Regions from separate parts of the Homo sapiens genome. Here all the other regions are linked to region 2. Evidence: promoter capture Hi-C in 16 types of primary human blood cells and fetal thymus (Javierre and others, 2016). All regions are on one chromosome and are shown on one strand. The core of a region is centred on a gene start or on the middle of the fragment in contact, and the rest is flanking DNA. Distances in the headings are between cores, read along the strand shown. Region 1 overlaps RBFOX2 (RNA binding fox-1 homolog 2). Region 2 holds the start of RASD2 (RASD family member 2). Region 3 overlaps RBFOX2 (RNA binding fox-1 homolog 2). Region 4 has its middle 7.8 kb from the start of RBFOX2. Region 5 overlaps RBFOX2 (RNA binding fox-1 homolog 2).

What was found. Contacts are between HindIII fragments. The CHiCAGO score rates a contact against its expected background, and 5 or more counts as called.
Region 1: a contact is called between a fragment that was not itself captured here and the fragment with the promoter of RASD2 in region 2, in 1 of 17 cell types (M1 macrophages). The highest score is 5.4, in M1 macrophages.
Region 3: a contact is called between a fragment that was not itself captured here and the fragment with the promoter of RASD2 in region 2, in 1 of 17 cell types (M1 macrophages). The highest score is 5.4, in M1 macrophages.
Region 4: a contact is called between a fragment that was not itself captured here and the fragment with the promoter of RASD2 in region 2, in 1 of 17 cell types (M1 macrophages). The highest score is 5.0, in M1 macrophages.
Region 5: a contact is called between a fragment that was not itself captured here and the fragment with the promoter of RASD2 in region 2, in 2 of 17 cell types (M1 macrophages and M2 macrophages). The highest score is 5.2, in M1 macrophages.

The regions. Positions count from the first base shown.
Region 1 is chr22:35,975,718-35,978,417 of GRCh38, reverse strand. All of the region lies in intron 1 of RBFOX2 (RNA binding fox-1 homolog 2), which reads left to right. Among named protein-coding and RNA genes, the nearest start is that of RBFOX2, 52 kb to the left of the region's middle. The HindIII fragment of the contact is 3,382 bases long and covers 1-2,700 here.
Region 2 is chr22:35,539,458-35,542,278 of GRCh38, reverse strand. It overlaps RASD2 (RASD family member 2), which reads right to left and starts at 1,448. Exons shown (of 3, transcript NM_014310.4): 1 at 779-1,448. RefSeq lists enhancers at 1,098-1,660, 1,661-2,223, 2,224-2,786 and a silencer at 1,757-1,976. The HindIII fragment of the contact is 7,504 bases long and covers 1-2,821 here.
Region 3 is chr22:36,013,721-36,016,420 of GRCh38, reverse strand. All of the region lies in intron 1 of RBFOX2 (RNA binding fox-1 homolog 2), which reads left to right. Among named protein-coding and RNA genes, the nearest start is that of RBFOX2, 14 kb to the left of the region's middle. The HindIII fragment of the contact is 745 bases long and covers 1,016-1,760 here.
Region 4 is chr22:36,035,286-36,037,985 of GRCh38, reverse strand. No RefSeq gene overlaps it. Among named protein-coding and RNA genes, the nearest start is that of RBFOX2, 7.8 kb to the right of the region's middle. RefSeq lists an enhancer at 2,016-2,700. The HindIII fragment of the contact is 1,028 bases long and covers 823-1,850 here.
Region 5 is chr22:35,923,871-35,926,570 of GRCh38, reverse strand. The region is part of intron 2 of RBFOX2 (RNA binding fox-1 homolog 2); the gene reads left to right. Among named protein-coding and RNA genes, the nearest start is that of RBFOX2, 100 kb to the left of the region's middle. The HindIII fragment of the contact is 1,864 bases long and covers 380-2,243 here.

The DNA.
Region 1 (2,700 bases), core at 171-2,670, 440 kb before region 2:
AGCAAACAGCTAGAAATTGTGTGTATGTGTACATACATATGTACATAAACACATATATACCACATATACATCTATATTTCCATATCTCTTTGTGCTATATACGTATATATACATGCATGATGTTTGTGTGTGTGTTACATATTTTAAATTATAAAACAATGCATTTTATATTATAAAATCATGAATTCACACTGATAACTCCATTAAATGCAGCCAACCTCTTTCCATATTTGTAAATATATTCTCCAGTAGGGAAAAACTTGGCTCCCCTTATCCCCAATATGTTTACTTATTTGCTCAGTGTAGCCAGTTTTCCAACCGCGATGGCTGACTCCACCACCTCTGTACCCTACTCCTCATGTTCTGGAATCCTCAGTCAATGGGCTCCTTTGGCCCATTCTTCCTTGTGGCTTCCTAATCTCCCTAGAGTTTCCCAGCTTTACCTGTAGTCTTCCAGTGCCCCCTGACCCCCAACCACTCTTATCTTTGGCCTCTGGGCCTGCTGTCCTGTGCATCCTTGATTCCTCAGCTGCTCACCTACCTGTGTCCTTGGCTGCTGTGCTAACTCCTCTGTGACGGAAGGGGGACAGGGCTTTTTTTTTTTTTGAGGGGGATTTTATACGTATACACATATGTATATGTGTGTGTGTGCATGTATATATATATATATATATATATATATATATATATATATAGTTCATTCAGGTATAATTTACATGCAGTAAAATTCATTCTTTTAAGGCTACATTTCTATGAATTTTGACAAATGTAATATAGACATGTAACCACTACCACAATCAAGATATAAAATGCGTCCATTACCGTAGAAAGTTTCTTCAGGCTCTTTCACAGTTAGTTCTCTCTTCGCATCCGCAGCCACTGGCATCACTGATCAGATTTCTGTTCCTATGATTTTGCCATTTCTAAAATGTTATATAAATGGAATCATGTATTATGTAGCTTTTTGAGTATGGCTTCTTTCACTTAGTGTAATTCTTTTGAGATTCGTCTGTACTGTTTTAGGTATTAGTAATGCATTCCTTTTTTGCTGTTGAGTAGCTTCATTTCTCTTGGGTAAATACCTAAGGTTGGGAATGCTGCAGGGTCATATAAGTGTATATGAAGTGTTTAAGTGTATGAGAAACTGCCAAACTGTTTCCCAAAGTGGCTGTACCACTTTGGATTCCTGTCAGCAATGAATATATCTACATTCTTTCCACTATTTGGTATTGTCCGTTGTTTTTTTAAAAAATGAGAGTCCTTCTGATAGGTATATAATGGATATCTCTTCGTGGCTTCAATTTGTATTTTCCTAAATATTAATGATGTTTAGCATCTTTCATTTGCATATTTGTCAGTCATATCTCTTTGATGATGGGTCTGTTTAAATGTTTTGCACATTTTTTTAAAATGAGTGGTTCATTTGCTTTTCTTTTTCTTTTTTTTTTTTTTTTGAGACGGAGTCTCGGTCTGTCGCCCAGGCTGGAGTGCAGTGACGCGATCTTGGCTCCCTGCAACCTCCGCCTCCTGGGTTCAAGAGATTCTCCTGCCTCAGCCTCCCAAGTAGCTGGGATTACAGGCACACGCCACTGTGGCCAGCTAATTTTTTGTATTTTTAGTAGAGGCGAGGTTTCGCCATGTTGGCCAGGCTGGCCTTGAACTCCTGACCTCAGGTGTTCCACCCGCCTTGGCCTCCCAAAGTGCTGGGATTATAGATGTGAGCCACTGTTCCTGGCCGGGTGGTTCGTTTTCTTACTGAGTTCATTTTGAAATTCTTTATATATGTAGCAAATCCTTTTTCCGATACACATTTGTAAATATTTTCATTCATTCTGTTATTACTTTTATATTATAAATGTGGCTTGTTTCATATATAAAAATGTTGGATTGAATTCTTGGGGGCTTTCCTTTTTAGCCCTTGTGCTGTGAATACACAAGGGAAATATTTGTGAAAGGATGGATCTAGATGTTGAGGGAGGTGGAGATCTTGGAGGATCAAGTGTAATTATCTCTCCTCAGTGACTGGAGGTACTTGTTGAGAACAGGAAGGAAGGACTGAGGGAAGAATTAAGAGGGGGGGGTGGTGGTGGTGGTGGTCAGAGTTTTTGGTTGGAGGATTTGGTATAGCAAATTCAGGGGTGGGATAATGGCTACTAGAATTGTGTAAAATAGAAAGATAAGGAGTCAGGGGGATTTAACATGAAAAGTGTTGAACCTAGCTGAAATCAAACAGGGAGCTGAAAACAACGTTAGTAACCATGTTGTTCAGCCTTTTCATTTGATAGGTAGGAGATAGCCTTAAGAGAGGGGATGCGATTTATTGAAGATTATATGCGTCATGAAGTGGCAGAGTTAGGACTTAAATTCAGATCTTTAAGGACAGTAGTGAAGGAGGGGCTCAGCCCATGTAGGAAAATACATTTGGGGGTGGGAGCAGGAGGTGGAGGAAAAACTAGAATTCTAATGGCATATGTTTTTGTTATTCTTTATATCCTTCACATAATTTATAAATATTCTTCTTGTATCTCCTCAGTATTAAGTAAAATAACAGTAACAAGTCTGGAATGACAGCAGAATTAGTGATTGAGCTGGTAATAGTTTGACCAGAAATCAAATTGGAATATATGTTGGGTCAAACAGAAAACACTAGTGATCAAGTGGGAACTCATTTTTGGCACAACATGAAAATTTGATTTTTTT
Region 2 (2,821 bases), core at 199-2,698:
GCCTGGTGAGGCTGGACTGGAATGCAGGCGCAGGTCTTGCAGGGACCCCATCTTGTCTCTGACACCACAGGAGGCTTGATTCACTGGCTCCTGACCTGGCTGCTCCCTCCCAGCCTGGCTTCCCACCTTCCATGAGGTCTTGGACAACATCCCCTGTCATCCTCCTGGTGCTGGGGACAAGGGGAGGGGAGGGCACAGAGAGGCCTCCAGAGCTGCCTTCCGGGCCCTCCAAGACAGCTAAGTTACAGGAAACCCCTCCTGGGAAGGGAATCATCCAGGAAACTCACTCTGCACCAACCCAGAAAAAGCTCAAGAACTCTGGATAACGAAGGAGCTTCTTAATCTTCCTTCCCCACCTCCAGGTAATGCAGGCTGCAGCCAGCTCCAGAAGAGGGACAGGAGTGTTTGTGGTAGTTGACTCGTCTTCCCTGAGCCCCCGTTTCCTCCTATTTAAATGGGCTATTACTCTAGCTCTTTAAATGCAAAGCCTGTGGCACCAAAACTAGCACATAGTAGAAGCTCAATAAATCTTTCTTTCCTGGGATTAAGTCAAGGGTATAGCACTCAGTTTGACACATACAGTAGGTGCTCAACGAATTTAATTCTCTCTAGGTATGCAAAGTTGCCAGACGATCCCGGCACATAGTAGGTGCTCAATCAATTTCACTTTCTCTGGTCATCTAAGGAATCACTGAGCTTTCCTCCTCCAAGCCTCTACCCTTTCTTCCCGGCTGCTCCACTTCCCCCAGATGCCCAGCTCTGTTGGGGCGTCTCCTACCTGGGAATGGCGGGCCGGGCCTCTGGCACGGCTCAGAGAGCTGCCTGGAAGCGCCGGGAGCTGCGGGGAGCTGCCTGCTGCTCCAGCCGCCGAGCCTCCCAGAGTCTGTGGTGGCTCCCGGGTCACTGCGCGGGGATCCTCCCCTGCGCTGCTCGGGACGCCGGGCTGGGCGCGGCCGGGCAAGGAGGCGCAAGGGGCAGGTGCCCCATGGGTGGGCTCCGAGGGCTCGGCGGGGCCCGGGCAGGGGGCGGGCTCCGGCTCGCCGCCGCCGGCCCTGCCCTGCCCCGAGCCGGGGGCCTCCTGCTGAGCCAGGTGCCCGGAGGCTTGGGGACGTCCGATCCGGGGGTCCCCGCCTGGGGCTCTCGGGCTGGGGGCAGAGAGGTAGGGGCGACTCCAGTGATGAAGGAGCAGCTCCTAGAGACTTGGGGAGGGGGGGTCCTTTGGAGGTGACTGTGGGTGCGTGTCCCAGGTGGGCGAACCCTCCTGGTCGCCTATGCCACCTTCTCCGCCTGCCCCAAAGGGGGTCGCTCGGATGGGGGGTATCGGGCTGCCGGGCTCGGCCGCGGCCTCCTTCTCTGCCCGCGGCTCTGCAGCTCTCCCAGCGCCGGAGGGACGGCTTCTTTCTCCCCGCGCGGCGACGCCAGCAGCTGAAGGAGGAGCAGGGCGCTCTGCTCTGCGCGCGTGTGGGAGGGGGCCTTGAACGCCGCCCCAAGGTTTCGCAGCTCCAAGTTAGCATCAACCCGGCTCCTCCTCCTTCACCTCCTCCTGTCCCCAGATGAGGAGAACTTTGTGTGTGGCCCTGGGTTCTCCCTCCTTCCCCCTCTCGCAGGCAGATGCCCCACTGTCACCCGCAGGGCGAAGAGGTCGCTGATCCCTCCGAAAGGTGGCAGAACCCCAGGCTCCTGATGACGGTCCCAGCGGCACCCTCCCGCGCCCCTGCGAGCGTCGCCCACCTGCTCCTTCGGCCCCCCGCGAGCCGCGCCTCCCGCCGCCCAGCGCCAGCGTCTGCCCCCCAGAGCCCGCTCGCCCCGCCCCACCCCGGCGCCCCGCCTCGCCCCGGCGCCCGGCCAATGGGAGGCGGGTCCCGCGGCCCGGCCCCGCCCATCCCTTTCGCGGCCTCCGGGGCGCCGCGGTCTGCGGTTCCGCGTGTCCGGGCGCGTGGGGCCGGGGCCGCTGGGCGCGCGCACCTTGCCCAGAAGGCGGCCCGGGCCTCGGAGGCTGACGTCTGCGCACGCGCTCACACGCACGCCCGGCCTGGCCGCAGGTGACCCGCATGGGGTCCGGCCGCCTGCCCACTCGGCCGGGGTCTCCAGCGGCTTGCGCCCGGCCAGGTCGAGCGCGCCACGGTTCCAGCGCCCTCCTCCTTCGCGGAAGTCCCCGGGTGCCCTCCCAGGTGTCCAACCTGCCTGTCCCAGCCGCCGCCTCCCTCCCGAGCTCACGGTGCCCACGGGACCCTGCGGACTGGCACATGGGCCATGCACGTGTCGCCCAGAGGGGCGGGGAGTCACCTAGGCTTAGTAGCCAGAGGTCTTCGAGGCATGCGAGTCTCAGAGACCACGGCCGACGGGGACACACCAGGTGCCTTGAGCATTGCGTCTCCTGCCTGCATTCTCCCTCCCCACCTTTAAATGAGGGGCTTGACCTAGGCCAGACATCGGGCCTTCTCACTGGGCCATATCTCCACACCACTTATTACTTAATATATTTTTTAAAATATCAGATCCACTTTCCCCACCCCTTAAACACGTTTTTTTAGAGAATCATTATATCACTGCCTTAAATGGGAAATCAGTATCACTTGCCATAAATAGAAAGTAAGAGTTAAAATAAGCACAGTGAAAACAAAGCAAGGTTATTAAATTCCAGCTGGAAACCGTGGCCTGCCAAGGCTTGAGATGTGTGCCCTCAGTGAAAAAGGGAGATTGGCAAGGTTTGGAGAGGTGTTAAATACCCATTAGCACCTAACAGAGACTTTCTCCTTCACATATCAGGAGGCTTAAAAGAGAATGTTCTCGTTGTGTGATACAGCAAAGGGATGGGATG
Region 3 (2,700 bases), core at 139-2,638, 470 kb before region 2:
GATTTATCATGAGGGATGGGTGGTGTGGCCGTGGGACTCTCCTAGCTCTGGGGATTGGGGTGGAGGCAGAAGCTATGTGAGTAAAACTAGAGGAACTACAGACAGGGCCTGGGGAGACTGGGGGTGTCTGAATGTGGCCTGCAGCAGTTGCTTGAGTTGGAATACTTTTGGGCAGAGGCTCATAGAAATTTCTTTCAATTGCTTTTTTTTTTCTTTTAAGAAGCTTTTTCCCATACAAATTGGAATTGTTTGAAGGAGTGGGCCTTAATTGTTGCCAGCCAGAGTGATTTTCAAAGCAGATCTATATGGATTTCACTTAGGGGTTACTTTCAGGGGGTATGTGGCTTGTTCTGAGACAGGAGGACGTTGGTTCCATTTTCCTGGAAGTTGTTGGGACTCCTGGATGGCCCTGCTCTATTTGTCTTGGGCCATTAGGCAAGTGGAAAAGCAGCTACATAGTTAGCCCTGTTGCATGGAGTTTAGTTTCATAATTCATCCTCTCAGGGATTTTTATACAGTCACACTTACAGCCTAAAGTTTGTTTTCTCCCTTTTTCTTTCTTTTCCTTCTTCAGTTCAGTGGTCCACAAAAATTCTTGGGAGGGTAAGTAATAATTTCGGGTAAAAGGCAGGAATTGTAGATCTTTTTTTAGCCCCCTGCCCCGATTAAATTTCTCCATATTCAGCTTCTCCTTCATCTGCAAAAGCATCTGCAAATGAGGTCGCTATCCCCTAATCAGACTGGCTTGTCCCCTAATTAGTCTGAATATGTGGCTTTGACAGCTTTCACCTGCTGTTTCTTAGTTTCTAGGGGATAAGATAGGATTGTGTGATTTCAAAGTGAAAACTGGCAAAATTGAAAGATGTTTTGTGGTGGCTCCCAACATCCACAAAGCTTAACTCATTGGTTTGCTTCTCATATACAAGCTTCCAGGAACATGGTTACTGTTAGTGGCTGGCACAGTGGGTTTGAAGACTTTGTTGGAACTTCAGGAAGTTTCCCCTTTGGCAAAGCTTACAGGGAGTTGGTAGTACTTGTCCTGAAAGTCTGACCCTGGTCTTATGCTATGCACACCTTGTTTAAAAGAATGCAGAGTACTGCTATTCAGCTATTGCTTAAGCAGTCCGTTTCATATATGTCTGCATTAGTTACATACTTACATAAGATTTTACTATGTTTTGTGTTATATTTGAACTAGAAGTCATAGTTTCATACATGACTCTTATTAAGCTGATAATAAATTGGCAAATTTTGATATCATCCAAGACTTTGAGGTAATGCTGGTCATACTCAAAAGGTCTGTATTTGGGTTTAGAAACTAATTTTTCTGTTAGCTAGCGCCTCTCCATTCCCAGGTGCTGTTCATTACTCATTATAGACATCTTCTGTCCCTCTGCTTTGTTAAAAGTCTTTAGCTGCTTGTCATGATACTGAATAGATCTTTTTGCAGCAGCATTTTAGCTCTGAGCTGGCTGTGTTTTACAGTGTTGGAGATCAGTTGGTTAACTTTGGCATTTCCTACCTTCATACGTAAGCATTAAAGTGTGTTAAGTGCATGTAGTAGCCCTTCAGAGAGGCGCTTATCAGGGACTTCTAGTGATTTTTGTCAGCTGTATAAAAATGCTATGATTAATAGATAACCTGTATCTGTGTGTGCATGCGCAATTTTCTTTTATGCTTACTCTGCGTTTCTTTCTCTAGGAGTGGTGTGAAATAAGTGTTACTCTGTAGGCTTTGCTTTTTTTCAATAATGAGAAGCTTATTTTAAGAATCCCTTATTTGACTTTCTTGAGTTTGGTGTAGGTATCATTTACCCCTTTTGGATTTTAGCTTTACTATGGGTTATTTTTTGCAGTGTTAGAAGCAAGTAGTAAATACTTTGGTATCCCCGAGCTTAAAGAAACCTAAAAATTTTGACTCATTCAGCATTCTGTTTTAAGTTAGGAAATTATTTAATTCTAGTATCCCAAGCTGTATTGTATTGATTGCTCTTTAAGAAATGATAACAGGTGGCCGGGCGCGGTGGCTCACGCTTGTAATCCCAGCACTTTGGGAGGCTGAGGCGGGCGGATCACGAGGTCAGGAGATCGAGACCACGGTGAAACCCCGTCTCTACTAAAAATACAAAAAATTAGCTGGGCGTGGTGGCGGGTGCCTGTAGTCCCAGCTACTCGGAGAGGCTGAGGCAGGAGAATGGCGTGAACCCAGGAGGCGGAGCTTGCAGTGAGCCGCGATTGCGCCACTGCACTCCAGCCTGGGCGACAGAGTGAGACTCTGTCTCAATAAAAAAAAAAAAAAGAAATGATAATAGGTATCATCCTGCCCATGCCCCAGCCCCCCACCAAAAAAAGTTAAATAACTTTGGACATTAGAATTAAACACATTAAAAAAAAAACCTATCACACTACACTTTTCATAAGCAGACGTTGTGATGCTGAACTATTGTGTAGCGTTTTCCAAACCAGGATTTACGCCCAGATTCCCTACCGGTAAGTTAATTCCTAACTCTAAATTCATAAATACATATGTAATGAAATGTCTCCTTTTCATTTCTGCTTCCTATGTGTCCCTATCCCCTTTACCAAACAAGTAACCACTGTTACTAATTTGTCTGTTATCCCCCCTCCTTTCTTTTTGACACAAATATTAGCATACTCTCTGTATTTTTTGCTCCTTGCTTTTCTCCATTTCCTATATCAG
Region 4 (2,700 bases), core at 87-2,586, 500 kb before region 2:
TTCTTCCTCCCTCACTCTCCCAGGTATCTTCTGCTGTTCTCGCCCTCAGGAATAAAACTATTATAGTGGAAATGCAAAGAGAAGAAGAGTCTGAACTCAGCTTTTGAATTTCAAAATATGTTTTGAAATGTGTGGCTGGAGAGAAAAGTCTCTGTGTTTCAAAAGCCTCATCTTTTGTACTCCAAAAGTTTGAAACCTACATGATTCTGGACATGAAGTCTATGTCCTACAAAATCCAGAGGTTCAAACGAAGCAGAATCAGCCAGGATAGGTTTGGCAGCCCCACCTGGGAGAGGCAAAGGCAGCAGGGGCTGAGGAGAGAGGGGAGGCGAACCAGAGTCTTGTATGGGTCTCTGGAGGATCCTCCTCGCTTGCCTCTTTACAGATGGAGCCTCAGGGAGGAAAGAGGGAGAAACGGAGCCCAGGGGTCACTGTGGCATCTGGAAGGAGCAAAGACCTGAGCCTGGCTTCTCTTTACAGGCCCTGGAGGCGGTGGCTTTTGCAGTGTTTCCCCTCCCAGCGCGATGTCCAAGGAGTAAGGATGCCTCCTCTGTGTCTACATTGCAGGGGCTGGAGACAGCCTCTTGGAGCGTCCCAAGGCCCCCAGAACAGTGGGAAAACCCAAGGTTTCCCCATGTCCTTGACAGAGGCAATCTCAGTGCCTCAACAACAAGGATCAGATAGGTCAGCTGGGTGGAGCCCAGTGCGGATCGATACTGACAGCAGGACAGGGACCCAGAGGAAGATACCTGAGCAGGTGCCAGCAGGGACAAGGAAGACAATGAAGACCCCATGCCTCAACAAAACAAAAATTCAGAAGCTTATGCTCCCAGTGGAAAGCAGGATGAAGAAGTTATTAACTTCAGGTTCAGAGAAAAAAATGTTAGACTTTTTTGTCCCCTCTTCCCTATGAGATTTGTATCTGCCCAAAGTAAAACACCCTAAAAAGTTCTGAAAGGCACAGGGTGAAGCACTGGAAGGCAGTGGACATGGAGTGGGGGGACAAGAGTTTCTTTGTCACTAACCATCTTGTGTAACCTTGAGCTGGTCGTTTCACCTCTCTGGGTCTCAGTTTTCTCATCGGTAAAATAAGATGTAATACTACCTGCTTCTCTGGTCGGTTGTGAGGATTAAACGAAAAAAAAAAATCCAAAAAACAAAACCAAAAAAACCCCACTTAGTTTTGCACCTGGTAGTTGTTATGGGCTCAGCAAATATCTGACCCTTCCCTGCCTTTCCCCAGTGAAAGGAAATTGTTGCCGATTTAGAAACACCATAATTTTTGCAGGAAGGATGGATCCATGAGGTTATGTATACCAGCGCCTGGAAAACAAAATAAAACAAAGCCTTCTTCCACTCTGAAGAAGCAATAAAAACCTCAAGGCAAAAAACAGACAATGAAAATGACTTGAGAGCAGGGTGGGGGGTGGTGGGCAGGGTGAGGGCGGCGACTGCACTAAATGAAAAACAACAATTCAATACCCTGCTATCATCCTTCATCAAACTACAGAAATAGAAACCAGACAAACACATTATGTGAAGGGCAAAAGGGCTGGCAAGGTTCTGGCCTATAGGAAAAACCCTGGTTCAATAATCCCACGAACAGAGGGAGGTAGGGAAGTGAGGTCAAAGTCAATAGCGAGTATTTTTTTGTCAGAACGCTGGTTCTATAGCCCTAATGAGGCTTAAACATCACTCGTTCCTTTTTTGCTGAATTCAGTTTCTCATTAGACTCTGTATCTTCTCCCAGATCAGCCAGGCACATGGCAGGAGCTGCTTCCACTTCCTCTGGCCCATGAATTATCAAGGGTATTCTCTGAATTTTTTTTTTTTTTTTTGAAAAGAAAGCTTTGGAGTAGAAAATGGTCTCTTCTATTTATATCTCCTCTCTTCGCTCTGATTAGAGAGGTGATCAATTTTGGGGAAGGACTTAGACCCTGTCTTTATTCAGAGGACTGCCTGGTTAAGACAGTATTTTAAGATTATCTGCTCCGGGTCTTTATCTGTTTTTCTAGGGAAAATCTTAGGTCTGCAGTTGTGTTTTTTAATATCTTCAGGAGTCTTGGAATAGCCAAGTTTTATGTCAAGCTCAGTGCTAGGTGCTAGGAACACAGAAACAAAAAACAGGAATTAGGAAAGTGATCATGTTCTCAAAGAACGCAAAGAGATTTTACACCACCAGCTTGTAGGTAACCAGACTACTGGGTTAGCTGCAACTGGCATTTGAATAGATCTTTCCCAAGATCTCTTATCTCCTAAAGACCTCGCAATAGCCCTGTGGCTAGGTACTCTGGCTCGCTTTTCACAGATGGACAGCCCACTTAACTCTCCCAGTCTTTGTTCTATTGAAGACCGCAGCTGACTCCAGTCCTGGTCCTTTGACTCCAAGCCCTGTGCTGAGTTTTCTCCTGGTAGCAACCCAGTGGGCAGTGCCAAACTCTTCTAAGCCCATGGAAAGGGCACACAAGAATTTACTACCTTTTATCAGAAACCATTCCCTGGGAAATTCCTCCTCATTTTGAAAGAGCCAGGTCAAATGTAACACTCTGGGTGAAACTTGTTCTCTCTCCCCCAGGCAGACGGAGTTACATCTTTCTGTAATACCCCTATTGCTTTTGGCATATATAATAATCATATTAATAAAGATAGTAGATGCAATAGCGTAGTAAAAGGGTCTAAATTAACATTTATTGAGTGTGT
Region 5 (2,700 bases), core at 62-2,561, 380 kb before region 2:
TTGAGCTGTGATTGTTAGTCCACTCATGACCCAGTTGCTTAAATATTTTGTTAATGGATGGATCATAATTTCACTGATTGACTTTTCAATAGATTGACCTGTTATTTTGTATATAGGCAATTGATTTGTATTGTAATGAGAGGTTTAATGTGACCATCAAAAAGAATTATCTGACTAAAGATAGGGCCATTTACAAAGGAAAATTATAGAATTTCCATTAGCAATTTTCAAAATCGAGAAATTCATCTGACTAGACTTGGTTAGGGCAGCTAAGTAGTTAGTAGGGATATTCTTGCTGTAGCGGTTAGTACTACCAAGCAATCGATGGTCTTTTATAATCAATTCTGGCTACCATTTTGTGAGTTACATTTAAGAAGCTTGACATATTTATTCAGTGCTTTGTTCTTCAACAGACAGTCACTGGCAGATGATTTAGAATGAAACCAACTAATTAAGTATAAGGTAAGACAAAAGGCCTCATAGTTGGTGGACAATATAGTTACGGGTTTCAGTTACAGATTAAATATTTTAATTTTCTTAATAGCATTAGCTGCATACTATTATACTGATCTCATCTAGGGTTGATTAGAGAGACAGGGGAATACAACAGGTAACTTAAGATCTTGTGTTAGAAACTTTGGTACCACCAGAAAATACTCTCAGCAAGTACTATGTAATCATGCATTTAAACAGCTCTGATCTCACTGGAGTCTCATTACTCTGCTTAGCTTTTATCTGCTGAATATTCTTTAGTGTGATATCCTAAGCCTTCTGTGATATGGCCTCAGTCTTTTTCCTTCTGTTTTGTGTAAGGTACTCTGTTCAAGCCACACTGTGGGGTGGGGTAGCGTAGCTTTGGAATTAAATGTGGGTTTGAATTCTAATTCCTTTACTTACACTATTTCCCATGTCCCATGTTTAAATACAGGTCGTCCTTTAAATCTCACTTCAAATGCTACCTTCTCCTTGAGGTTTTGGCTAGTGCATTTATTTGCGAGCTGACTCAGTGTCCCAGGGCACATGCTTTCTACTTTGCTTTTTGTGTTTTTTTTGGAGACAGGATCTCTCTCTGTCCCTCAGGCTGGAGTGCAGTGGCGGAGCCTCGAACTCCTGGGCTCAAGTAAGTGATCCTCCCACCTCAGCCTCCCAAGTAGCTGGAACTACAGGCATGCATGTGCTACCACGCCTAGCTAATTTTTTAATGTTTTATTTTTAGTAAAGACAGCGTCTTGCTATGTTGCCCAGGCTGGTTTTGAATTCCTGAGCTCAAGCAATCCTCTTGCCTCAGGCTCCCAAAGTGTTGGGATTACAGGTGTGAGCCACTGCACCCGGCCTTCTACTTTTTTTTTAAATTTTTTTATTTTTTATTTTTATTTTTTGAGATAAAGTCTTGCTCTGTTGCCCAGGCTGGATTGTAGCGGCTGGATCTCGGCTCACTGCAACCTCTGCCTCCTGAGTTCAAGTGATTCTCCTGTCTCAGCCTCCCGAGTAGCTGAGATTACAAGTATGCGCCACCACGTCTGGCTAACTTTTATATATATATATATTTATTTTAGTAGAGATGGGGTTTCACCATGTTGGCCAGTTCGAGTTGGTCTTGAACTCCTGACCTCAAGTGATCCGCCCACCTCGGCTTCCCAGAGTGCTGGGATTACAGGCGTGAGCCACCATGCCCAGCCCAGCCTCCTACTTTGTAATAGTACTTTATCACTGCCTATTGCATTATGGTGAAAAGGTTTGACCAACACACAGAATTCTGTAAGAACAAGAGTTCTCTCATGCTTCTTAGTTTTCTTGAATACTTTGCACAAAGTATGTGCCCAATATGAATTTGGTAAAGTGTGGTAACGGGATAAATTAAATAAACTCAACTTCAGCTTGTTGAAATACAGAGACTACTCCATTTGGATTTTCTCTTATGGACAAAGTGGGGGAAAAAGCAAAACTGTGGTCAGACTTTCACTAGGTTTTTATTGCCTTTGCCTTGCCAGAGCGATATGAAAAATTAATACTTAAGAAGCTAGATATCTGATGTTCAGCAAGAGAGTGCCTCTTACAAGTTTAATGGGTTTGGTCAAGTGGATATTAAATGTAAATCTGTCATTTTATGGAGCCATAGAAGGCTCTTAAGACACTCAATAAATATACTTATTGAATTAGTAGAACTTTTCCCATGTATCTCCTATTACTACATTAGGATCTTTGTTCCCTTAGTGTGTCTTTAGCCTGTGCTCTCACAAGCTTTGTGGTGTCGTGTGGATCACAGGATCGTTTAAGATAAAGATACTTTTAGCTCTTTAATTCTGGTATTCTATTATTGGTACAGGGAACCCATACATTATCTTAATTTCAGAGTAACACACGTCTCGGCATGGGACAGGGGGTGTCCTAATGAAAAGAGGGCTAACAGGTGGAATACTGACTATGTGCAGGCACTGTATAAAGCAAGTAGTTTTTAAATCCCATTTGCAGGTGAGGAAACCAAGGCTCAAAGGGATTAAGTCATTGTCCAAGGCTATGTAGTTGTTAATGAGTGAATCTGGGTTTTAAAATAAATGTGTTAAATTCCAGGGTTGATATTTGCACTGGGCATTTATTTACTTTTATTTGAATTTTTTTTTTTTTGCATTTTACTTGCATGCTTAATTTTTCTTTGCTCAGCAGCAAACATTATGTTCCCCACTTGCTTCCCACTTGCTT